Linked DNA regions of Homo sapiens: all the other regions are linked to region 7. The links are contacts of gene promoters, found by promoter capture Hi-C in blood cells and fetal thymus (Javierre and others, 2016). All regions are on one chromosome and are shown on one strand. The core of a region is centred on a gene start or on the middle of the fragment in contact, and the rest is flanking DNA. Distances in the headings are between cores, read along the strand shown.

Evidence for each region. The method cuts DNA at HindIII sites, captures the fragments that hold promoters and counts their contacts. A CHiCAGO score of 5 or more calls a contact.
Region 1: a fragment that was not itself captured here is called in contact with the fragment with the promoter of XPO7 in region 7 in 6 of 17 cell types (naive CD8 T cells, naive CD4 T cells, total CD8 T cells and 3 more); the score reaches 20.6 in naive CD8 T cells.
Region 2: a fragment that was not itself captured here is called in contact with the fragment with the promoter of XPO7 in region 7 in 1 of 17 cell types (endothelial precursors); the score reaches 5.9 in endothelial precursors.
Region 3: a contact is called between a fragment that was not itself captured here and the fragment with the promoter of XPO7 in region 7, in 1 of 17 cell types (naive CD4 T cells). The highest score is 6.4, in naive CD4 T cells.
Region 4: the fragment with the promoter of LZTS1 here is called in contact with the fragment with the promoter of XPO7 in region 7 in 1 of 17 cell types (fetal thymus); the score reaches 5.1 in fetal thymus.
Region 5: the fragment with the promoter of ATP6V1B2 here is called in contact with the fragment with the promoter of XPO7 in region 7 in 2 of 17 cell types (fetal thymus and naive CD4 T cells); the score reaches 7.8 in fetal thymus.
Region 6: a fragment that was not itself captured here is called in contact with the fragment with the promoter of XPO7 in region 7 in 2 of 17 cell types (naive CD4 T cells and non-activated CD4 T cells); the score reaches 6.4 in naive CD4 T cells.

Annotation. Positions count from the first base shown.
Region 1 is chr8:20,492,935-20,496,423 of GRCh38, reverse strand. No RefSeq gene overlaps it. Among named protein-coding and RNA genes, the nearest start is that of SNORD3F, 120 kb to the left of the region's middle. RefSeq lists an enhancer at 2,530-3,068. The HindIII fragment of the contact is 288 bases long and covers 1,848-2,135 here.
Region 2 is chr8:20,213,559-20,216,967 of GRCh38, reverse strand. It overlaps ATP6V1B2 (ATPase H+ transporting V1 subunit B2), which reads right to left. Exons shown (of 14, transcript NM_001693.4): 10 at 2,000-2,150; 11 at 473-555. Among named protein-coding and RNA genes, the nearest start is that of ATP6V1B2, 18 kb to the right of the region's middle. The HindIII fragment of the contact is 1,753 bases long and covers 448-2,200 here.
Region 3 is chr8:20,476,245-20,479,558 of GRCh38, reverse strand. No RefSeq gene overlaps it. Among named protein-coding and RNA genes, the nearest start is that of SNORD3F, 140 kb to the left of the region's middle. The HindIII fragment of the contact is 2,547 bases long and covers 343-2,889 here.
Region 4 is chr8:20,302,533-20,305,612 of GRCh38, reverse strand. It overlaps LZTS1 (leucine zipper tumor suppressor 1), which reads left to right and starts at 1,650. Exons shown (of 4, transcript NM_021020.5): 1 at 1,650-1,873. RefSeq lists a silencer at 1,591-1,660. The HindIII fragment of the contact is 16,584 bases long and covers 892-3,080 here.
Region 5 is chr8:20,195,809-20,198,897 of GRCh38, reverse strand. ATP6V1B2 (ATPase H+ transporting V1 subunit B2) reads right to left here and starts at 1,517. Exons shown (of 14, transcript NM_001693.4): 1 at 1,356-1,517. The coding sequence starts at 1,491. RefSeq lists a silencer at 1,464-1,743. The HindIII fragment of the contact is 6,568 bases long and covers 1-3,089 here.
Region 6 is chr8:20,450,674-20,453,885 of GRCh38, reverse strand. No RefSeq gene overlaps it. Among named protein-coding and RNA genes, the nearest start is that of LZTS1, 150 kb to the right of the region's middle. The HindIII fragment of the contact is 3,660 bases long and covers 1-3,212 here.
Region 7 is chr8:21,917,369-21,920,925 of GRCh38, reverse strand. XPO7 (exportin 7) reads right to left here and starts at 1,264. Exons shown (of 28, transcript NM_015024.5): 1 at 1,138-1,264. The coding sequence starts at 1,155. RefSeq lists a silencer at 908-1,347. The HindIII fragment of the contact is 3,017 bases long and covers 1-1,463 here.

The sequences.
Region 1 (3,489 bases), core at 742-3,241, 1.4 Mb after region 7:
CAAAAACAAGCTCTCTCCTGTCTCTTCTTACAAGGGTACTGATTCCATTACGAGGGTTCCACCCTTATGACCTAATCACTTTCCAAAGGCCCCACCTCCTAACACCATCACACCGGGGGTTCTGAGTTCAGCTTATGAATTTGGGGAAACAAAATCATGCAGTCCATAACTCCCAATTTTCCTTCAGGATCCATTTTTCCTGTAATTTTTCAGGAAGCATGTCAATGACAGTTCAATTAAGTACTTTACATGCCAGTTCTAGTGCTAGGAACACTAAATACATTTAAGCTTCAAATTAGACATGATTATCCTCATTTTACAGAAAAAGAAAGGAAGACCAGAGGGATTGCAGTATTTCCCTCAATCACTCAGTTTTGGGGCAACAAAGCTTGTACTAAGGCCCCCTCCAGAGTCTTCTCTATGTACAACATGGAGACATCCCAGGCAGGTGGTACACAGAAGGCACACAGGCCAGGAATAAGGCCCAGGCCAGTGTCCTGGGCACCTGCTGCCACCGACCAGCCACAGGGTCTCACGGACCACCTCGGAGTTTGAGTTTCTAATATGTAAAATCAGTGTTGGGCCTTCGCTCTCCATGTGTTATAAGTTTCTTAAGGAGGTTAAGGCCTATCTGAAAGAGCCAAAGGGGTTAAAACCTGCAAAATGTGGGGTGGGAGCACGTGCATCCCAGCAGGAGAGATTAGCAGTCCTGGAGGGGGGGGATCTGGTGGGGGAGGGATAAGGCAAGTGGAGTTGTGAAGATGCTGAGGTTTTAGACTTAAGACCTTAAACAAGTCAGATGGAGATGGGGTCTCCATTTGTGTCAAGTAGGGCAACCAGGGCTGGTGACATAGGACACAGTGCAGGCAGCTTCACTCTGGGGACTTTGGCTTCATGGCAGTGGCTCAGGAAAGACTCTGGACCCCAGGAGGTCACAGCCCCAGGAGCTGGCTGGGATCGTGGAGACTGTCTGATGTGAGCACACAATGGAGGAATGTGCCCCCCGGAGCCCACATGCACTCATTTCTCTTCTCTACAAGTCTTTGGCTGCTGGAAGAACCCAGGTGCAGAGAGTTGGCCAACCCTTAACCTCTTGGGCTCAAGCAATCCTCCCACCTCAGCCTTGTGAATAGCTGGGAATACAGGCACGTGTCACCACACCAAGCTATTTTTTTAACATTTTTTTATAGAGATGAGGGGTCTCACTATGTTGTCCAGGCTTGTCTCGAACTCCTGGGCTCAAGTGCTCTTTATACCTTAGCCTCCCAAAGTGCTGATTAGAGGCATAAGCCACCATGCTGGCCAACTCAGCTTTTCAAGTAGTTCCTCTTATCTTTTGTTATGTAACTGTTCACACCCTGTTCCTTTAGGGTTTTGTTAAAGGCCAACCATCTAACCCCAAGTCAGTGGTTCTCTCTGAACATTTAATCCCTAAAAACAACAACATCACATTCAACTCACAAAAGGCCCAACTGCATTATGGTAACCAGGGTTGAAATTCACCTCAGCAGACTTCCAAAACTCACATGGCTGGGATCTAAGTAGGCAAATGCCTGTATTATATGTCTCTGTGATGGTAAATGGGGCTAAGTCACCAGAGTCCAGGAGCCTCACACTTCTGCCAGGAGCCATGGAGCGACATGGCTGCTCTCCTCTCACCCTTCCCTTCAGGGGCCCCAACAGGCTTCCCAGGCCTCAGCGGATAGACGTGAACTTTCCAGCCCCTGGGCTGAGGTGTCTCAAGGGACTTCTTGAATTACAGACCCAGACACCAAGAAGCCTCCCCTTCTCCATTTGGGTGTGCTGTGGCAAAAAGAGAACAATTCCCTCCTTTCCACCTCCAAGCTTGTTTTTAGCTCTCTCTCTCTCCTAGCACCTAACTCATCAGCATACAGAGTAGTTTTGATAGAACCCCTATAAGGCTTTCTCTCCAAAGAGGGATTTTAATACCCTTCTCAGTGACATTTTATATGATAACAGTATGTAAGTTTGACAGGAAGCTGTTTTCCAAGAGTTAAAGTCCAAACAGTCCCACAGATCAGACTGATAATGGCTTTCCTGATCATTATTAAATTCCCTGTGATTAGAAAATGGGCCGGTGCTATTGATTTAAGCTCTTTGAGTTAAGCTAAGCTTTAGAGGGCTTTCACAAGGCACAAAAAGGGCATTTGAGACTGTATTTTACCTTCCCAATTAAAGTAGTTTTCAGAGTACAAACAGCAGACAGCCAGACATTAGGCAGGCGTTCCAGAAAGAAAGGTGGAAGCATTTGTCCAGAACATGGAACCAGAAGACAAGCCCCATCACAGCCAAGACAAGCCCCATCACAGCCAATGCTGCAAAGTGCAGACAGAGGTTGAGGCTCAAATTCCCTAAGAAAAAAGGCTTCCTACTCCCAACAGTGCCTGGGTCAATGACACTTTGAATTCAACCTCAAAGCATCTATAGGTGATAAGAATTTCCAGTCCTAGAATTTTGAGTTTCAAGGATTTCAATTTCAATTTCAAGGATTTTTTCATGTGGTCTTTCAATCATGGTCAAGCTGTCTATACAAATTTTGCATCAAGAAATTATCGCCAAATCTCCAAAGGCTAAAGATTCCAGATTACTTTTTCAGCTTAATAAGTGAGAAAAGAATGAAGGCAACGGTGTTTCTATTACAATCTAAAGCTCTAGAGAAAACAAGGATCCCTAGAGGAAAATCTTGAGCAATTGCAGGGTCTTAAGTGCTTTGTGTCTTTCTGAAGGAAAGACACTTGAGGTTTTTAGGTGCGCCTGCAGTGCCTATTTGTTGCCCAGACAATAAGCAGTTTGAGCGACTGTGCTCAGGCCCCTGAGCATTTCTTCTCTTGACTGCCTGTCTTCTAATCCGCCCCAACCCCAGGAGAGCTTTTCTGAAACCAGTTGCTTCCTCTCCAGCTGGGAGGTCTTGGTGCCCAATGTCTTTGATTCTGCCCACAAGGGGCTCAGCATCCAAGCTAGGAGCCTTGTCATACGCATCCTGTCACTGTTTTTTTTCTTTTTTCAAACCATGATCAAAAGTAAGAAACTTATTTTTAAACCACAACCCAGCCTGTGACAGGCATTTAAGACAAAAACGAAAGTTTCAGCAAATAATACTCATGCGTACTAGGGGCATTTTGATGTCACAGCCCGCAAAATTGATGTTATGGTTCCAACAGGTGTCAGCCTGCAAAATGAAAACTGCTCGGTGTTATCAAGGATCACAAACATTCCTTTAAAATGTATTTATTTAGCAATTACTTAGAGAGCACAGGGCATGTGCCTGTGTTAACTGTTGTATGGGGACAGGGAAGAATATGGAAGTCTCTCCCCTCAAGCAGCTCACAATTGACATGGAGAGGCATAACTGATATGTAGGAAGATGTAAATAGCAATGCCTAAGAGATTGGTGTTCAGATGGAGCATGGGTCTGTGCAGTAGAGATACCAGGAGGGAGAGGTGGGGAGGGGCCTGCACACTGAGGAG
Region 2 (3,409 bases), core at 75-2,574, 1.7 Mb after region 7:
AAACTCAACTTTCAACATCTGTTTGATAAGTACTACCACATTATCGAGTCAAAATGGTCTTCTGAACTGACTCAAAAAATTATACACAAAATAAAAAAAATTAACAATAATTCCTAAAAGCTGATTTTAGAAGTCAGCATCTACTAGAGAGGCATGGAAAAGTCATTTTTTTCTATCAATAACAAGATTGGTAGATGATACCATTATGGAACAGAATTCCCAAAAAAGTTCTTGGAGACAAGTGACTCTGTTTTAAGACACAATAAAGGAAAGTGTTAAGAAGATTCTTAATTCTGGCGCTCTGCCGACACCAGAATTTAAGATAATAGAAATGACAATTTTATAACCATATTAAAAACAATTCAAGTTGATACTTTCTAAGCAAAGCAATTCCTAAGAGCAAAATCCAAGTCACTAAAGAATAACGGATGAGCAGGTCTGCAAGCTTCCCAGCACTGCTCCCGTCCAGTACCTGTCTGTTGTGCAGCTGTCTGTCCACATAGATCTGCCCCTCTGTAATGTAGCCAGTCAAGTCTGGGATGGGGTGAGTGATATCTACCAGAGGAAGACAGTTGGCATTAAGCATGGCATCTTTAGGTTATGAGTTTTAAAGCGGCCATCTCTCAGAACCAAACCCACAAAAAGTCCCTCTGTACTACCTGTAACATTACTTAGAAGAGTGTTCTTAGAGTCATTTTCTGTGATGCTGCCAATGTTCTGTGTCTGTGCTGTGCAGTACGGTAGCCATTAGCCAAATGTGGCTATCTAACACTTGAAACGTGGCTAACAAAACTGAAAAACTTAATTTCAATTATTTCAGTTAACTTGAACTTAAACAGCCAAATGTGGCTAGCGGCAACCATACTGGCCAGTTTAGTTTGGTTGCAGCAGTTAGACATGTGTTGGCTCTATGAGGTAAACTGGCTGCATTCATTAAAAATACTCTCTCCCCTAGGTAAGCGCTCTCCCCTCTCAATATAAGTAAAGTTTCATTTTAAACCCAAAGTTCCCTTATAGAAATTTGCCAACCTGATGTATACTAAGAACATTCTTAGTTCATAAGCTATGTCGGATGGATACACAACATTTCACCATGCAAAACGCAGGCATATAGACAAGTAAACAACACTACACAGGCTGCACCAAAAAGGTCACACAAAGCAACACATTTCCAAATCTGTTAAATTACATCATTTTGTAGCTACTCCCTTGGAACAAATCATTTTCACGTCAGAGGCAGTACAGAGTAACAGTGTGAGTTATGAACTCAAACTGGGTCCTAAATCTATCACTTGCTAATCTCAACAAATCATTTGACCTCCCTGTGCCTCAAACAGCATCTGCCTCAAAGTTGCTATGAGGAGCAAATGAGTGAATATTTATAAAGCACTCAGAACAGTGCTCAATTACAGTAAGTAATAACTTACCATATTTTGTCAAAGTGTTGTTCAAAAACTGAAATAAGGACAAAGAGGCAACACAGGAGAGGAATTCTGAATAGTCGTACCCCATCCTGGGCACACACACAGACAGGCATTGGAAAGTCATTTTTAACCAGCCCTTGGTTAAAAAAATCTGTCTCTCAGTTTTGTGGAGTTTCCCACTTGTACTCCTCATGTGGCACTGAACATGGCCATGTTAAATTACCGGTGCACACACATAAAAAACATCCCCAATTAGACTGAGTAACTTACATTAAGTAGAGACCATAAATTCTTTTCAAAAATTCTTTACATTTAGAACAGTGTCCTGCAAACAGCAGGCACTCAATAGTACCTAATAAAGTTAAAAACTTAAATTATGAAGAAAATTGCTTTTCCTCCACAATAGGATAATAACTGTGGGTAATTTTCAAATGAAAAATGTTTTATTTAGGCAAATAACCAAGATAAACTCTTAGGGGATGTGTTCTCAAAATAACTTCAACTCGAAAAGGTAGATGGGTCTTCTCTCTCTTTAAAATGATTAGGTGTGTTATAATCCAAATACCAAAACTTACCATCATTAGGCATGGTTAGAATAGGGATTTGAGTAATCGAGCCGTTTCTCCCTTCCACTCGCCCAGCGCGTTCATATATCGTGGCTAAATCTGTATACATGTAACCTGGAAAACCTCGTCGACCAGGTACCTCTTCCCTGGCTGCTGAAACCTGACAGCAGGTCAAGCAGAAGAGTATCATGCACGATATTACAACAAGCTTGCTTACAACATGTTTGTTTCAACATGCCAAAGTACAAAGTTGAAAATCCCATCATGTTCATTTTAAATACTGTCCTTAAGAATGATTTAGAAAAATCTCCCGGCAACATAAATTCAAAGTATTCTGTAACAAAAATGTTGACAATGGGGCACCAGAAGGTTTTTGCTAAAATCGTATTGCCATAATGTAAGTTTTCAAATAGTTTGCTAGAAGAAAATCTGTTTGCAATTTTATAAATCAAAGGAAGTTAATTTTAAAACAGAAAAGATTCTTGGTTCACAAGATTTATTCCACGTGGTGGAACTAGCCATATTTATCTAACCTAATCCCAAAAAGGTCAAAAGGGAAGGAAATGTACACGAGGAATCATCTGCTGCGCTTTACAACATTATTTAACTTAATCCTCACAGCAACCCTATGAGGAAGGTGCTACCTCCAATTAACAGTTGGAATCAAGGGTCAGAAAAATTAAACAATTTCTGAAGGTCACAAAGTCAGGAGTCCATTGCACTGCACAAAATAAGAATGGTGATAAACGATCTTTCCCTTAGAGACATGGATACCAGACTATAGGTGTGCATGTTCACCTACAATCAACTAGAACCCTAAAGCATTATGAAATCCAACTTCTAAGTGCTACTCTGACATCTTCAAAGGAGCGTGCTACAGCGGTGCTCCTCACAGCACGGTCTGCAGACCAACTGTTATCAACATGCAATGATCACACAGAAAGCAAGATAAGCATTTAGAAACTTTCAGGGCAATTTGGCAGAATAATTTTATGCCTGTTGAATCTAACAATTCTAAAATCTGCATTTGTAAATTATATATATAGTTAAAATTTCACTTTTCTAATAACTCAATTTTATTGCATTTTACAAAAGTATTGGTCTGTGATGGATGGGGGAGAAAAACTAGTCCTTGACTAGAGTTAGTCTGAAACAGCAATATAGCAGAGTAAGATATGGTGAGGGCACTGAAGGAATTTTAAGAAGCCTGTCTCTTCAGAATCTTTTTATGTGCTTAAAAAAGTAACTTACTCAAAATTTCAGTAATTTGTATTACTGAACAAATACCCCAAAACTTCTAGGGGTAACTGTTATAATCTTTCTTTAAGAAGCAGGTCTCGATCTGTCACCCAGACTGGAGGGCAGTGGCACAATCATAGCCCACCGCAGCCTCAAATTACTGGACTCAAGCTATCCTCC
Region 3 (3,314 bases), core at 367-2,866, 1.4 Mb after region 7:
CATGTGTCAAATGGCCACATTAAGGACTTATTTTGCTTCCAAAACCTGTTATTTCTTAGAACACCATTCAACAGTTCTGTATCAAGTACACTTTGCACATAAATTTAGTGATATGTATTTTAATTGCTTGAAGGATGCACCACGTGCAGCAGACAGGGCCATAGACACGTACGTTAACTCAGCCACGAGATTATGAGAGACTGATGGATTAGGTCACAGCCACCTCTCTACCTCCTTCTGACCTGGCTCTCAGAAATGTTGATATTAACCCTTGACTCTGCTTTCAACTCAACGTCAGTGCCTTCCTTCAAAACTGTAAGGTCTGCATGTTGATTACAAGCTTTAATTCCCACAAGAGACTTATAATACTTTTTCCCATTTTCCTGACTTCTCGACTGATTTTTCTCAGGAATCAGGATTCAAAAAATATAAATTTCTCCCAAGAAATGCCAAGAAGAATTTTCCACATGCAAACACAAGGGAGGAGGGTGGCCCCCTTCCTGCCTGGCAGGCTGTGCTCTGCAAGGAGTCATCCCTGGCTGGACACAGGGGACTTCAAGGCCACACGCTGGGCACAAAAGGAAGGGCCAGGCATGCTGGCTCACGCCTGTAATTCCAGCACTTTGGGAGGCAGAGGTGGGCAGATCACTTGAGGTCAGGAGTTTAAGACCAGCCTGGCCAACATGGTGAAACCTGTCTCTACTAAAAATACAAAAATTAGCTGGGCCTAGTGGTGGGCACCTTGTAATCACAGCTACTCGGGAGGCTGAGGCAGGAGAATAGCTTGAACCTGGGAGATGGAGGCTGTAGTAAGCCGTGATCATGCCTCTGCACTCCACCCTGGGTGACAGAATGAGACCCTGTCTCAAAAAAAAAAAAAAAATAAGAGGAGGAGGCAGTTGATGGGGTTCATTCATTCAGCCCAATGCTGGACAAGGATGCCCTTGTCCCCCAGGGCCTGGGGTTCTGTGTGAGTTTCCTGTGGCTGCTGAAATAATGTGCCACATGCTGGTTAGCTTACAACGGCAGAATCTTATTCTCTCCCAGTTCTGGAGGCTAGAAGTCTGAAATCAAGGTGTTGATAGGTGTTGGTAGGGCCATGCCCCCTCTTAGAACCCTTCTTAGAATCGGTCCTCTAGAGAAAGAATCCGTCCTCACCTCTCCTAGCCTCTAATGCCCCCAGCAGTCCTCGGCGCTCTTGGCCTGCAGCTACATCACCCCAATCTCTGCCTCCATGTTCCCATGGCCTTCTTCCCAGTGGCTGTCTCTGTCTCCAAATCTCTCTTTCCTTATCAGGACAGCAGTCGCTGGACTTAGGGCCCACCCTAATCCAGTATGACCCCATCTTAACTTGATTACATCGGTAAAGACCTCATTTCCAAATAAGACCACATTCACAGGTATCAGGGGTTACAGCCTCAACATATTGGTTTGGGGGACCCAATTCAACCTACAACAGGCTGCATTAGCAAACAAAGCAGACATGGATCTGGCTACGGCTGAGTTTCCCAAGTCAATGGCTGGGTGCCTTGGGTGCACCCTACAGCACAGAGGGTGAATGAAGAACCATGGCAGGCAAGTGGAGCAAGAGCAGAGGCACTCCCTCAGTGTGCAGTGATCTGGGAAGGCTTCCTGGAGGAAGAGACATCCACCAGAATCAGGAACATTGGGCTTGGGAAGGTTCCAAAGAGAAAACAGCAGCAATGAACAAAGGCCTGAGGTTGACAGAGCAAGGCCTTGGCCTTTGCCCTAACTGTCCCTCTGCTCAGGAGGTAGGTCCCCAAGATCTTAGCACAGCTACCTACTTCCCTGTCGCCTCTTTTGGAAAGATGTTTCCTGGCCAGGCTTAATCCACTCTTCTCTATCACATCACCCAGTTTATTTCCTTCAAGACACATCACAACTTGCAATGGTTAATTATTTGCTCACTTATTGTCTCTGGAAGTTAAGTCTCTGCGGGTACGGTCCTGCCACCTTTTTTCACAGATATAGCCAGAGCACTTAACACAGTGCCTAGCATATTGTACACAATAAAAATGAAGAAATAAATGACTGAATATGTGAATGAACATGTGGAAATAGTTTCATTGAGGCTAGATTGCAGAGTCTGAGGCAAGAACTGGCAAGACAGGAAGCTGACGTGGGAAATGTGGGCTAGAACATTCAGGATCCTGTAGCCAGATCCAGGAGCTGGGACTTGTTGTGTAAGCAATGGAGATTGGGGTAGAGTGAGATGGGGTTTTTTGACAAAGGAAAGTGCATAGGGGCTTGAACTTGGCATCTAGCAATGGGCTAGCAATCGGCAAGCATCCCAAGATCTGGGTAGAAACAGATTCTGAAAGACCTGGAAATTCATACCTAAAACATGCATTGCTTAAAGCAGGTGCTCAGTAAATATGGAGTTGAGTGAGTGGGTGAGTGAGTGAGTGAGTGAGTGAGTGCGTGCGTACGTGCATGAAGGAGCCTCTTACTAAAAGCCATTGAAGTTTTACATGAAGAGGGCACAGAATTCCTGCTTTCTGGGAAACCCTGTATCCCTGAAGTGTTCTTCTCCAAATTTTGGGAAGCAAGTCCCATTACTAGAACCCTCACTGCTTTTTCTTTTTTTTCCCTCTTGCACTCTCCTGAACCAAGGAGAGGCAGATCTGTGCACTCCTGGGAGAAGACTGCCCCACCAAATGGCCAAAAGTCAGAACCAGAAACCTGCAGGTGAGAGTTGACGCCAACACCTCACTGCTTCTATCAGCTCCAAGCTGGCTTCACAGGCACTTTCCTGCAGCCAGGATGCAGTACCTCCCGCTGTGTGAGCCCTGGGCTCTGCTAGGCACAGAAAGAGATGCTGTAGGGGAAGCCTTTGAAGGCCCAGCCACCTGGCCAAGTTCACAAGCTTCCAGCAGCGTCCTGCCCCATGTTGCCTGCAGGACTAGAAGGTCACCAGACACCTGCAAACTACAGATCTCCCTTTGCATCTCCACAGCAGAGGATTTTCAGGCCCCTGGGCCTTTCCCTTCTTACTGTGAGCAGGAACCGAAAAGACCAGGCTTGGCCTGGTTTTATTTTGATTTTTCAACATATGAGTGCTGCTGCTGCTGCCACCACCCATCGCTGCTTTGATGGCTGTTATACCCACGACAGAGCCTGTGTATCTGCTGGGTAAGGTCAGAAAACCTCTCTGGGATCCTAAATAAATCAAGGACATTTTGAATCATTTGCTGTGGAGATGCAGGAGATGTAATTTAATCCTTAAACATACTGAATCTTTATGATGTAACCTATTCCAGAGGGGTTAAGGAAGATGGTGAGGGTGAAGACAA
Region 4 (3,080 bases), core at 401-2,900, 1.6 Mb after region 7:
CTTGTTACCTCATTTCACAAATAAAAAAAGAAAGAAAGAAAAAGAAAAACTGAGAAAGAGGGAGGGGAAGGTAATGGCTCAAATAACAAGCAGCGAAGCCTGTCTGTGTTCTTAAACCCTCGCGGTGCCATCTTTCAGGAAGCCTAGATTCGAAGGTCAGAGTCTTCAGGGTCAACAACCGAAGGCAGTGAGATTCCCCTACAGGGTTTTGAGCAGGGGTGTGGCAGAAACCATATGGCTTGTTTTCCTTTGAGCTGTCCCCCCTGCCACCACAATTCTATTTAATTTTTTTGTATTTATTTATTTATTTATTTATTTTGAGACACGGTGTCACTCTGTCACCCAGGCTGGAGTGCAGTGGCACTATCTTGGCTCACTGCAACCTCTGCCTTCCAGGCTCAAGCAATTCCCAAGCCTCAGCCTCCCAAGTAGCTGGGATTACAGGCTCCTGCCACCACACCCAGCTAATTTTTGTATTTTTTTTTTTTTTTTTTTTTAGTAGAGACGGGGTTTCACCATGTTGGCCAGGCTGGTCTTCAACTCCTGACCTCAAGTGATCCACCAACCTCGGCCTCCCAAAGTGCTGAGATTACAGGCATGAGCCACCGCGTCCGGCCCCCATGCTATTTATAATCAGATCGGCTATGTCAATCCTAATCCATTACATCTATCCCCCACCCCCCAACACACACACACACACACACACACACACACACACACACACACAGGCTTCTTTCAAGATGAGGCTAACACTCCTTGGGCAGAGCTGCCATCTTCCCGCCAAGCCTGGTTTTAGAGGATTAGCCTCAGTGCACCCTCAAGCCCCCAAGCCTCATGCTGCACCTAGCACTCCGGTTAACTGACCCTTTGTCCTACAAAACCTTGTAAGCTTGAATCCTCTCCTGGCTCAGTTGCTAGAAGTTAAAAGTGAGGGTGGTTGAGAAAATGATAGTATTATAAGGGGACTGGGTGAGACTAATAGCTATAAACTTGAAACAGGCCTCTGCTGTCACCTGAAACTCAGCTCCCTCAGAGCTGGAAAAGTTTGCTTTTGACATGTTTTGGGAGTGGGAGTCCCGGTGCTCTGGACTCTAGCCTGTAATCCTGGTGTGGTTCGCAATGCCCCTCACTTGGGTGCTAGTCCAGTCCTTGAACAAAACACACGCCCTTTAGTGCGAGTCGGGAGCGGGAGAGACGGTATTAAGAAAAATAAACTGGCGATTAAGAGGAAGGGGTAATGAAGAAAGGGGAACATACACAGAACGGGAGAAGGAATGGATTTTAAACAAAACTGGAGTAAGAATTTCAGGTAATGAAAGGGAAAAAAGGATGCGACAAGAGCAAGACAGGAACAATCGGAGAAAGGGGGCCAGGCAAGAAAGGAAGACTGAGGGGGCAGGGTCGCCCAATGGGGCTGATGGAAGTGAGAGCAGAGAGACGGGACCCGGGACCCCGCGCAGGCCGCGGGCGCGAAGGAGCCGCGAGGTCGCGAGCAGCCCCAGCTGTCAGCCCGGAACAAAGGCCGCCGAGCGGCACAGACCAGGCTGCCGGCAGCTCGCTGCCAATCAGCGGCGCCGGCTCTGGCCCCGCCCCGGGCCGGCCCCGCCCCGCCCCGCCCCGCCCCGCCCCGCCCCGGCTCCGGGACCCGCGCAGAGGCCGGCGCGCCTGGAGCTGGCGGGTTGGCAGCGGCCGGGCGGGGAGGCCGAAAGTTTCTCTGCCCGCCTCGGCCAGTGAGTGGGAGCCGGGAGCTGCATCCCGCGCAGTGGGACCGGCCCGGCCCGCTCAGCAGCTCTGGAAAAAGAGAGACGGGAACACACCGGGAAACACTGGGAAAAAAAAAAAGTCTCAAGTGCGCCCGAGGCGCAGGGGGCAGGTAAGGTGCGGTGGCCGGGGATCTCCTCGCCCCTGGAGGGTCTGCTGCCCTGGCTGCGGGAAACCGCTTTCCCCTCGCCGGGCCGGACCGTCCGTGCGTCCGCGCGTCCGTCGGTCTTTGTCTGTCTGTGTCCGTGGCTGTCGAGGTGTCTTTGTCTCCGCGTGGAGCTGTCAGGGTCTCCCCTCTGCAGGGTGGGCGCCGCTTCTCCGGCCCGGCCCAGAGGAGGTGACTGTGCGTCTGTCCTCCTGTCTTTGTCTTCGTGTCTCCTGCAGACGGGGTTCGTCTATTCCCAGCACCGATGCTGATCCTGGCGGGGACGTCAGTGTTAGGTGACACTGGTGTCGGAGGTGAAGAAGTGGGAGGTGGGGACGCGAGGCCGCAGGAGCAGGGGCCGCAGGAAGAGGGTCCGGCGGTCGGTCCGGGCCGCTGAACTTCGCCGCCTGGAACTTTGCAGATGAGCTGTGTCCACACCGGTGGGGAGGACACCGGTGCGTTGCAGCCAGAGATTTGAAAGGTTTCCCTCAAGGAATAAGTCACACGGGCGGAGGTGGTTAGAGAGGAAGGTGGTAAATCGAAGTGTCTAAGTGGCTCCCTGGGGCTGCAGCTTCCTGGGGTCGGTCCTGGATGTGCAATTCAGGAATTTAGTCAAAGCACCATGCACACACAGACAGCCCCACACTACCTTCACTTCTTCCACCGCCACCCTAGGCAGCCAGACCTCACCCCTCCACCCTGCCACAGGCTTTGCTCTGGCTGGAGGGGCTTCAGAGGTCGCAGCTTGGCAGCAACAGGCATCCCCGAGACACCAAGGGCCAGGTGATGTCTCTTTTTCGTGCTCCAAGTGGAAAGGTTTGAACTGTGGAGCAAATGAGCCTTGTGCTCGCCCACGAGTATGTCAGGCCTGGGAAAGTGCTCCAGACTTGTTAGCTTCGCAGTCTTCAATTTCCCAGGAATAAGAAGTGCTTAGGGATCTGGCCTCCTAAAGTGTTTCCTGTCTCACTTATTCCCTCCACACCGTCCCGCTGCCATCAGCCCCTCTACTCTCTGGTCCCGGGCGCTGGGAAAGTACTGAGGAGGCACTGAGTTCTGGACCATGCCGGGCAGGCGCTGCTCCTAATAAGGATCCCACACTCTGCTGGAAGTGCAGCCTAATAGGAATGCTGGGAGCCCAGGAGCCCAGCCACAAAGAGATGAGCTATCTGCTTGG
Region 5 (3,089 bases), core at 268-2,767, 1.7 Mb after region 7:
TCTGCCGATTTCCTGAAGTAGCTACTTCAGCTCAGATAAGTCCCAACATACATTTTCTAATTCGAACAATTCCCAGTTACTGTAAAAGGCACATCTCAGCAATCCACCGAATCAAATGTTTTCCTTTTTCTTCACACTGCAGTGCTATCACATGACCCAGTGACAGATCAGGATGTGGATTAGTCAGGCTTCAGATCGCCCAGACTAACACCCTTCATCTGAAATCCTTTTTAATCAGTCGGCCACCTAGAGACAGACACTCTGGCAATTAACCAGTGAAAATGCAGTCTCACCACCTGGGGAAACATCATGTGCTTTTCCCAGTTTTTTAAAAAGTCTATTTCGAGGGCTCATTGCCAGTTCCGAAGAAAGCTGTGAAGAAGTTGGATGCTACACAACTGCATTCTCTAGTAATCAAGAACCATTTCTTTTGGAATTGCTGAGCTATCCACTTAAACCTAGTTCATTAAGGCCTTTTTATTTAAAAAATCACAACATTTAAACAAGCCTATGCACACACACCACCTATGGGCAAAGCCACCTGGCTTCCCCAAAGAACCCTGCACTCAACCAAGTTTGGTTAACTGGTCAGTAAATGAAGAGGCAACGGTAGAAAAAGGCCCAGCGAGAATTTAAGAACCTGGATTTTTAGTCCCTGCTCTGCCAATAATTAAGTGTCTGAAGCATGGCAAATCCTACCCCTTCCAGAACCTTAGGCTTCTCACCTGTAAAATGATAGGGTTGGACTGGATGACCTGCAAGGTACTTTTCAGCTCTAGCGTTCTCTGATATCTAGGTGTCCTTCTGCGGAGCAGCCCCTCCACCAAACACCAAGCCACATCTCCCTCTGGCTACTGGCCTGACCTCCATCCACGAAAGGCCTGACCACGTCAGCGAAGGCTCTACCGTCTGCCCTCCGCAGGAGTTGAAGACCCCATTGAGGTCCTCACCAGGGGGAGGGGAGAAGGGGCGTTCCCTCGACCCCTAGATATCCAAATGAAGTCAGGGGAAGATTAAGATCGGAGTGGCAAGAAGTGGCCCTCGGGGACGGGAAGCAAGTGCCTAAGAAGGCTCCAGCCTAGGGAAGCTGGGGAGGGGAGGGGGTAGGGCAACAGCCAGGAGCCCACCAACCCCAGGAAAAAGTTCCCGCTGGTGCTCTTGCCCTCAGCCCATCTCCTGGAAATATTAGGTACAGGCAAATCTCCTTCTAAAGAGACAAGTGGGTCAGGGTCGGAGGGGAGACGCGGGAGGGAAAAACAAATCCTACCCCCTACCCGCTGGCTAAGCAGGTGACTGGGAGCAAAGGGCTAGGCTAGGGAGCAAAGACCGGAGACGTATTACTCTCTGATACTCACTGAGGCGAGGCTGGGAGAGGTAGTTCCGACTGACTGCCAGCGCCTGCTCCCGAGCTCCCACCGCCGGCCCACCGGTGGGCACGGGTAGCTCGGGTGCGGCCCCGTTGACAATCCCCCGCATCGCCCGCAGCGCCATCTTGTCTCCTCTGTCCCGACTGGCCCAGCAGCGACGCCGCGCACGCGCAGATATACCAAGGCGGCCCGCGGCCCGAGGCTCCGCCTATGCGCGCTGCGGCGCCCCGGCCTCGCCCCGCCCCCTTCGCCGCCGGCCGCCCCCAGCCTCGTGACTTCGCGCCGCTGGGGCCAGACCTGCTTGCGAGCAAGAGGAGCTGACCAGCGTGCTGGGAGGCGCGCGCGGGCGCAGAGGGAAGGGAAGCGAAAGAGGGGAGATGGAAGGAGAGAGGAAAGCCAGCCGAAAGAGAGGCGCACAAGCGGAGTGAGGGGAGGAAGGCAAACGCGTGCAGGCCAACGTCAGCTGATATCCATTTCGAATGGGCTTTCGTGACGCTGAATGGAGAGAACTCAAGCTGTGAAAACCGCTTTGAAAAACAGAAGCAATGGAAAACATGTTTCAGTGATTATTAACACATGTGGCATCATTTAGTTCACTTTACTCCCTACCCAATTCGTTCACGCATGTATCCATTCGACAAACATATATTGGCTTGTTATAGGATGTGCGTAGCGGTGTGAAAAATAGGGGCAGATTTGGAAGCTGTGTAAGGGGTGGGACTAGTGTAGGATGACAGCCCAGGCTGGAGGCCGGAGCAATGGAATGGATTCTTCTTCTTCTTCTTCTTCTTCTTTTGAGAGGGAGTCTCATTCTGTCGCCCAGACTGGAGTGCAGTGGCGTAATCACGGCTTACTGCAACTTCCGCCTCCCGGGTTCAAGCGATTCTCCTGCTTCAGCCTCCTAAGTAGCTGGGATTACAGGTGCCCACCGCCACGCCCGGCTAATTTTTGTTTTTAGTAGAGACGAGGTTCTACCATGTTGGCCAGGCTGGTCGCGAACTCCTGACATCAATTGATCCCGCCGTCTTGGCATCCCAAAATGTTGGGATTACAGGCGTTAGCCACTGCACCCAGAAGATTATAATTTTTAAGTTTAACTAATGTCCAAAGTTGGCACGTGTAAAATTAAACAGGAATTGTAATACTTTACTGATAAGAGCACAATTGGTATGATATTTAGAAGAACAATTTGGTGATATCTCATTCAAATATTTTGGTACTAGGAACTTATCGTTCTCTCTCTCTGTAGATATATCTGTATCTATCTATCCACTCAGTGTATGTGACAAATATTTTCCATTATATATAATACATTACGTCATGCACCATATGGTATATATTATTATATATGGTCTACAGACATATACATGTATATATACATACACACAGATATTCAAAAAAAATTTTTGTAATAGCATAAACCTAGAAACAATCTAAATGCCCATTCATAAGTTATAGCCTATTAAGTCAAAGGTATTTCTCAAACTTTTGAAAAGAATTCAGTGGAGGCTCAAGGGTTGAGTTTTTTTTTTTAAAAAAAGTCCAAGACACATTATTAGGTTTAAAATAAAAAAGCAATTGCAAAATGCCATGTAAAGTAGATTAACATGTGAACAGTAGGAGAAATTTTATTTTTAATTTAATAATCTTTCTATGTAGTTTCACTGCTTTAACAGGTGTTTGTACTGATTTTTTCAAATACAATGCATAACAACTTTTTTA
Region 6 (3,212 bases), core at 382-2,881, 1.5 Mb after region 7:
GAAATCCTCCTCTCTCTCGGAACTAACCTGCCCACGAGCATGTTCCGTTCACACTCTTCTATCAGCCTTGGAAAGCATCTTCCCCACTCTCCCCAGCCTCCTTCTCCTCCTCTTCTTACTTATAAAAATCTAGCTCACCCTCGAGGCACAATGTAAATGACATGGATGTGGGGAGGCCACGTCGTACCTGACTGTGTGTCCAGGGCTCTTGCTATCACACAGGGTATGCTCTGTGGATCAGGAGCACTGGCGGACATCAGGGCTTGTCAGGAATATAGAGTCTCAGGCCTTGCCCCATAACCACTGAAACACACTCTGTTTTAACAAAATTCGTGGCTGCGTCTGATGGCTCACGCCTGTAATCCCAGCACTCTGGGAGGCCAAGGTGGAAGGATTGCTTGAGATTAGGAGTTCAAGACCAGCCTGCCCAACATGGTGAAACTCCATCTCTCCTAAAAATACAACAACAAATAAAAACCTAGCTGGGCATGGTGGCATGCACCTGTAGTCCCAGCTACTTGGGAGGCTGAGACAGGAGAATCACTTGAACCCAGGAGCCAGAGGCTGCAGTCAGCCGAGATCATGCCATTGCACTTCAGCCTGGATGACAGAGCAACTCTGTCTCAAAAAAAAAAAAAAAAAAAAAAATCCATGAGTGCTTCACATGCAAAATAAAGTACGACAAGTTCTGTCTAGAGAATGCCTTGTACACAGTGCCTCACGCATTGTAGTCATTCAGGAGGTGTTTGTTGAGTGAATAAGTGAGTGAATCCAGGAAAGATCATCAAAGCCCAGTCATGGTTTCACCCACAGCCAGTCCTGAAACCCAGAGATGCTTCTTAGCTGTTTAAATAGAGTTATCGACACAACCCAAGAACCTCCCACACTCTCCTCTCACTTTATTTCTCCACTTCCTCCTCCAGAATCAGGCACCTCCCACCTCCCATGGACAGCCACATCCCAAGCTCAAAAATGTAATTAGAAAAAGTAGTTTTTACAGCAGCTCATCTATAACCCACCCTATAGCCCTGCCTTTGTGGAAGGAGGCAGTCCATCAGGGGGTGTGAGTGATGGGCCAACCAGCAGACCAAGGCAGGGAGGAAGCCCTGCTCCCATCCGTCATCCCTTCTCCCTCGATCACCCTGCAGACCGCACAGCAACGCAGAAATGGCCCCCTCCAGGCCTGCAGGCGGCTGGCGGCTCTTCATCAACCTCAGCACTGCTTCTCCCACACACATCACCTCATGCTCTTTGTAACTTCCAGCAGAAGAGCCTTCCGTAAAGACTGCTGGGAAAATCCCAGGGAGAGAGGCCTGCCATCCGGCGTAACAAGGAAGGCAGGTTACCTCTTAACCATTGATCCCCCTCACTCTCGTCCCACCCCAAACACCTGGGAAACCCCATAGATGGGCAGTCAGCCTTACCCTACAGCAAACGCCAATCACCCTCTGAAAATAAGGCACTGACTTGTGGACTGTCAAAAAGTCTCATGAAGACCACTCTCACTCCAAGCTCCATTTTCCATACATCAGCCAAGGACTCATGCTACACATTTTGAGGAATATAAACAACAACAAAAAGCAATATATTATTTATGTTACTTTGACTTCGTGTAATGTTTTGCTCCCATCAAATTGTTTTCATATCCATTATCTCTTGAGTCAGGCAGACAGGAACTGTTATCACCATTTCACAGATGGAGAACCTGAGATGCAGAGAGGTTAAGCCTCTTCCCGTTTTTTGTGATTTATACCCTCCCTATGTTCAGGAAGGATTTTCTACAGCTTAAAATAAAATGATATTTACATAATGACTCGCATTTGAAGTTTAACTGTAGAAACATTTCACATTTGGTCAAAAACTACGTGCAGAACACATGTTATGACAATCGAAGTACTTCAATTTATGAAGAAAATCACCATTTGCAGGTTTTATTTGCTCAATAAACTTATATTGAACATTTAAAAAAACATAACAACTGTACTTGTATACATGTGAATATAAAATAAAGATGTAAAAGGAATCAGAAATCATCTAGGCAAAGGAGGAGATTTTTGTGCCAAGAGCCAGAAACAGACTCTTCACTATAGCTAGCCATAAATTGGCCTCTGGGCTTCCTAGCAGGCAAAGTAAAAAAAGGAACATAACATGTTGCAAGCCATTACTGTCAGATGAAAGAAAGAGAGCATGTTTATTCAGAAGAAACAACTGTTTCCTGGCATTGAGTTCTAAACAAAAGTTATCAATGGAGTTACAGGGAAATGGAATGGAGTAAGATACTCAGTCGTCCCTTCAGCAGTGACCATCAATGGATATGGAAATGTCCTTCATACCAAGACTTTTCAGTTGAATATTAAGCGAGATGCAGTGCCCGGCCCCAGAACAAACATTTCATAGAGACCTCCTAGATACTTTGATCCTCTGTAGCTATTGGATAAACTCTTTCCCTCTCTTTCTCAGCCAAAGGTTTTTAAAGAATAGTCTTCAATCGGCCAGACCCAGTGGCTTTCACCTGTAAACCCAGCACTTTGGGAGGTTGAGGCAGGTGAATCACAAGATCAGGAGTTCAAGACCACCCTGGCCAACATGGTGAAACCCCGTCTCTACCAAAAACACAGAAAATTAGCTGGGCATGCTGGCGGGTGCCTGTAATCCCAGCTACTCAGGAGACTGAGGTGGGAGAATTGCTTCAACCCAGGAGGCAGAGGTTACAGTGAGCTGAGATTGGGCCACTGCACTCCAACCTGGGCAACAATGCAAGACCCCATCTCAAAAAAAGAAAAAAAAAGAAAGAATAGTCTTCATGCACAGCTCCTATTTCCACGTCTCCTATTTACTCCTTAATTTATTAAGCCAAACATCTGCCCCAACTCTCCCCTGAAGACAGCTCTTCATAATGAATTCCTGGTCCCAGAGGAATCAGGAAATGGGTTCACCCTAGTGAACTCCTATAACAACATACCAGAGACCAGTGACTTCAACAACAGACTTTTTTCTTCCCCCTGTTCTGGTGTCTAGGAAGTCCAAGATCAAGGTCCCAGCCTTGGTCATGTTTTCTGCTTCCTGGCTTAGACAGCCACCTTCTCCCTGTGTCCTCGCAGGGCTGACATATGGTTTTGGGCAGCAGGGGAGAGCTTTGTCTCTCGTTAAGGGGACTCTAATCTCATGATGAGAACTCCACCCTCATCTAAACCTCATTACCTCCCAAAGGC
Region 7 (3,557 bases), core at 15-2,514:
CACACCACTCCAGATTCTTGTAGACGTATTAAGAATGAGATCATTCTTCTTACTTGAGGAATGATGCCACAGAATATAAAGGCGACACTTCTTGCCCTCTAATCTTTCCTTGCCACAACACAAAACCTGTGCACTTGGTTACCTAGAAAATTGGAAGGTTCCCCACAATGGATGTGCATCAATAACTGTCATAAAAATATCAGATCTCTGGCACAGACAGGAAAAACTTTATCTAGTTTGCAAGAAATTAAACCCTGCAGTCCTCCATCTGCTACTGGGTTTGGTATGGGCTGTCCCTTTCTAGGGCCTGTGCCTGTCTTTGAGGAGAGTGGCCTGGCCCCACAGCACGCTAGGAGCAGCTCTTGAGCCGGATCAAGACCCTCCCGAGCAACGTCTGCACCCAACCCTGCATCTCTCATTTCAGACACACCCCCCTCCACCCCGTGTTTCATAGGAGGTGTGGGCGCTCAACTCCTTCACTGTGGCTAGGGGGACGCGAGGGGAGGCGGGCCGAGGCCTGAGCACCCATTTTGGAAGACCGGGGAGCTCGGCCCTCCGGGCTGTACGATTTGGAGTGTCGGAGGGAAGGGCGCATCCGTGGGAGGGGGAAGGAGGCCGGGGTTGCTGGGGGGTCTCTCGTATTCCGGGGCGTGAGAGGAAGGCGGCGGGAAAGACTCCGGAGAGCGAGGTTTATCAGCGCGAGGTTTCCTTTTTGTTATCTGCTGAGGGATGGCGGGCGTCATGGGGGCGTCCCCCTCAGTAAAGTCAGCAAGGGGGTCCCCCTCGCTTCACCGGGGGGCGGGCGGGGGGGCCCGAGGACTTGACGGAGGCCTCCCCCGGGGACGAAGACAGTGACTGACGAACGTTGTGGGCTGCGCGCGCCGGGATGCCCGTTCCTGTCCCTGCAGCCCCGCGCGCGAGGTGTGGGACCGGGTGGGAGGGGACGGAGAAGGCCCCCGGCCCGGGAGGCGGGAAAGGCCCCGGGGCTCCGGGACGGGCGGCGGCTCCAGAGCCCCGAGTGGCGGCGGCGCGGGCCTGCCGAGTCCCGAGCCGGCTGGCGCCCTGTGGGCCGTGTGCACCCCCGACTCCACTCGCCGCTCTTCGTGGTCGCCCCCTCCCCCCCGCGGCTCCTCTCACCTGCACATGATCCGCCATTTTGCTCCATTCATGCTCCTCTCCGGCCCCCCCTCCCCCCCAGCGCGCACCTCGGCCGGAGCCGCTGCCGCCGCCGCCGCCGACGCCGTCGCCGCTGCGCCTGCGCGCTGGGGACTCGTCGCGCTGCGCTCGTGGCGTAGCGCCGCTCAGCTGCGCAGGCCCCGGCGGCCCGGGCCGTGGTTGGAGAATGCGCAGCACCGCTGGGACGGCGTAAAGGCGCGGGCAACGTCAGCGGCCCGGAGACGCCGGGTGGGAGGAAGGAGCGGGCCGGGGGAGCGCGAAGGAGGGGCAGCTGGGGGAACAAAGCTTTGTTTACATGGTTTTTAAAGGGGCCGCGCTCGCTCCGGCAGGCGGGCGCTGGAGTGGGAGTTGGCGCTGCCTTCTGCTCGTTTGCGTGGTGAGGGCTCCTGGATGGGGGCCGAGGTCTGTCGCCGCCCCGGGACCCCTGCACCCAGTGGCTTCCTCTCTTCCCAACCGTCTTCCCCCTTGACTCGCCCCTGGACGTCTCCCACCCCCACCCCCACCCCACCCTGCAGCTACGGGGACCCCCCACACCCCACCTAGGCTGCCTGCGAGATTCCTTACTTTCCAATGCCCTCTACTCAACGGGGGCCGATTCTGTGCTTGTGTCTGTCTAGCTTTCTGGACCAGGGCCATCGCTCTCTGGTCTGGATTTCACCAGCAACCCCAGTGGTTGATCTCGTGTTTTTCATTTCTGTCCTTTCGTCCTTGATAAACATTCATGGAAATAACCACCGAATGGTGGTGATGATCAAAACATACGAAGGCACAGTTCTGGCTTCCCAAAGACATTGTCCTCGTTGCCAATACTCTAGACTGCCTCCCGAGAGGGTCAGATGCTGGAAGAGGCAGCGGGGCTGGTGGTTAGGACCCCTAGGCTCGGTCTTGTGGAGGTATGAGTGGGAAAGCCATCTCTCTGGGTCAGATAAGGTCAGCCCCTGCATGCTGAGGCCAATTCCAGTCTTCCTCACTAGGAATTATCTGTTAGATAATGCCGGTTCCTGTTTTCCATTGGATTCCACTGTGGCTTCCTTTTAAGGCCCCCAGGTTAGATCATAGCTGGATTCTGAGAGCACTGATTGTTTGAAGTTTGTATTTACAGGGGACTACCATCATATGCAAATGATGGTGGTAGTGAATTACACACCCTTGGTGGATGTAGTGGACCGGTGCTCAGCATTCATTTCGACTTCCGTCCTCCTAGTAGGTCTTCCTGGTTTGCAGAGGTAGGGCACCTGGAAACTACATTACCCAAACTTCCTTGCAGCTAGGGTTCTGTATGCAAATTAGGCTCTGCCAATTAGGCTGACTCAGAGAAGATTTAAGAGGCAGAAGATTTAAGTGGCAGAGCTTTTGACTGTTAACTTCTAGCGAGCATAGACCTTTTCAGATGTTGGGTTTTTGTTTTTCCCCAAAACCTCCCAGCGTCCAATCATTAGCTCCGAGCGTATAAAGAGGCGGGGTGATGGGGTCAGTGGCTTTCTGAACCTGGCATCGGGCAATGAAATATTCTCAGAGTCACAATTGCAATGGAAATTCTTTGGATTCCCTACTGGACTGAATAGAGGTAACAGTTTCACAGTGGGCCAGGCCCAAATTTCTGTCCACCCTCCCTTCCCCCACCCCCGCACCCCAACCTCCCCGTGTTTCTCCCTGTGTCTTCCCTTCCTCAGTAAATGGTACCACCATTCATCCAGTTGCTCCTAATAAACACTCAGGAGTTGGTTCTTCAAGTCTTATCAGTCCCCAACATGCAAGTCACCTGCAAGTCCTGTTCAATCTATATCTAATATATACCCAATATGACCACTTCTCCATCCATCTCCACTGTTAACACCTTGGTCCAAGCCACCATTACCTTTCTCCTGTGCTCTGGTAATAGATTCCTAATTAGTTTCCCTGCTTCCTGTCTTGCCCCTTGATAACCCATTTTCCATATAGCTGGACGCTGCAGAACATTATTTTATTTATTTGTTATTTTTTGAGACAGAGTCTTGCTCTGTTGCCGAGGCTGGAGTGCAATGGCGCCATCTCTGCTCACTGCAACCTCCGCCTCCCTGGTTCAAGCGATTCTCTTGCCTTAGCCTCCCAAGTAGCTGAGATTACATGCGCCCACCACCATACCTGGCTAATTTTTGGATTTTTAGTAGAGACAGGGTTTCACCACGTTGGCCAAGCTGGTCTGGAACTGCTGACCTCAGGTTATCCACTCGCCTCTGCCTCCCAAAGTGCTGGGATTACAGGTGTGAGCCACTGCGCCTGGCCAGAACATTCCTTTAAAATCATAATTCAGATAATTTACACTCCTACTTAAAATCCTTAAGTGGCCTCATGTTGCATTTAGAATTCGAATCTTTGCTGTGGCTCAAGAGGTCGTATGA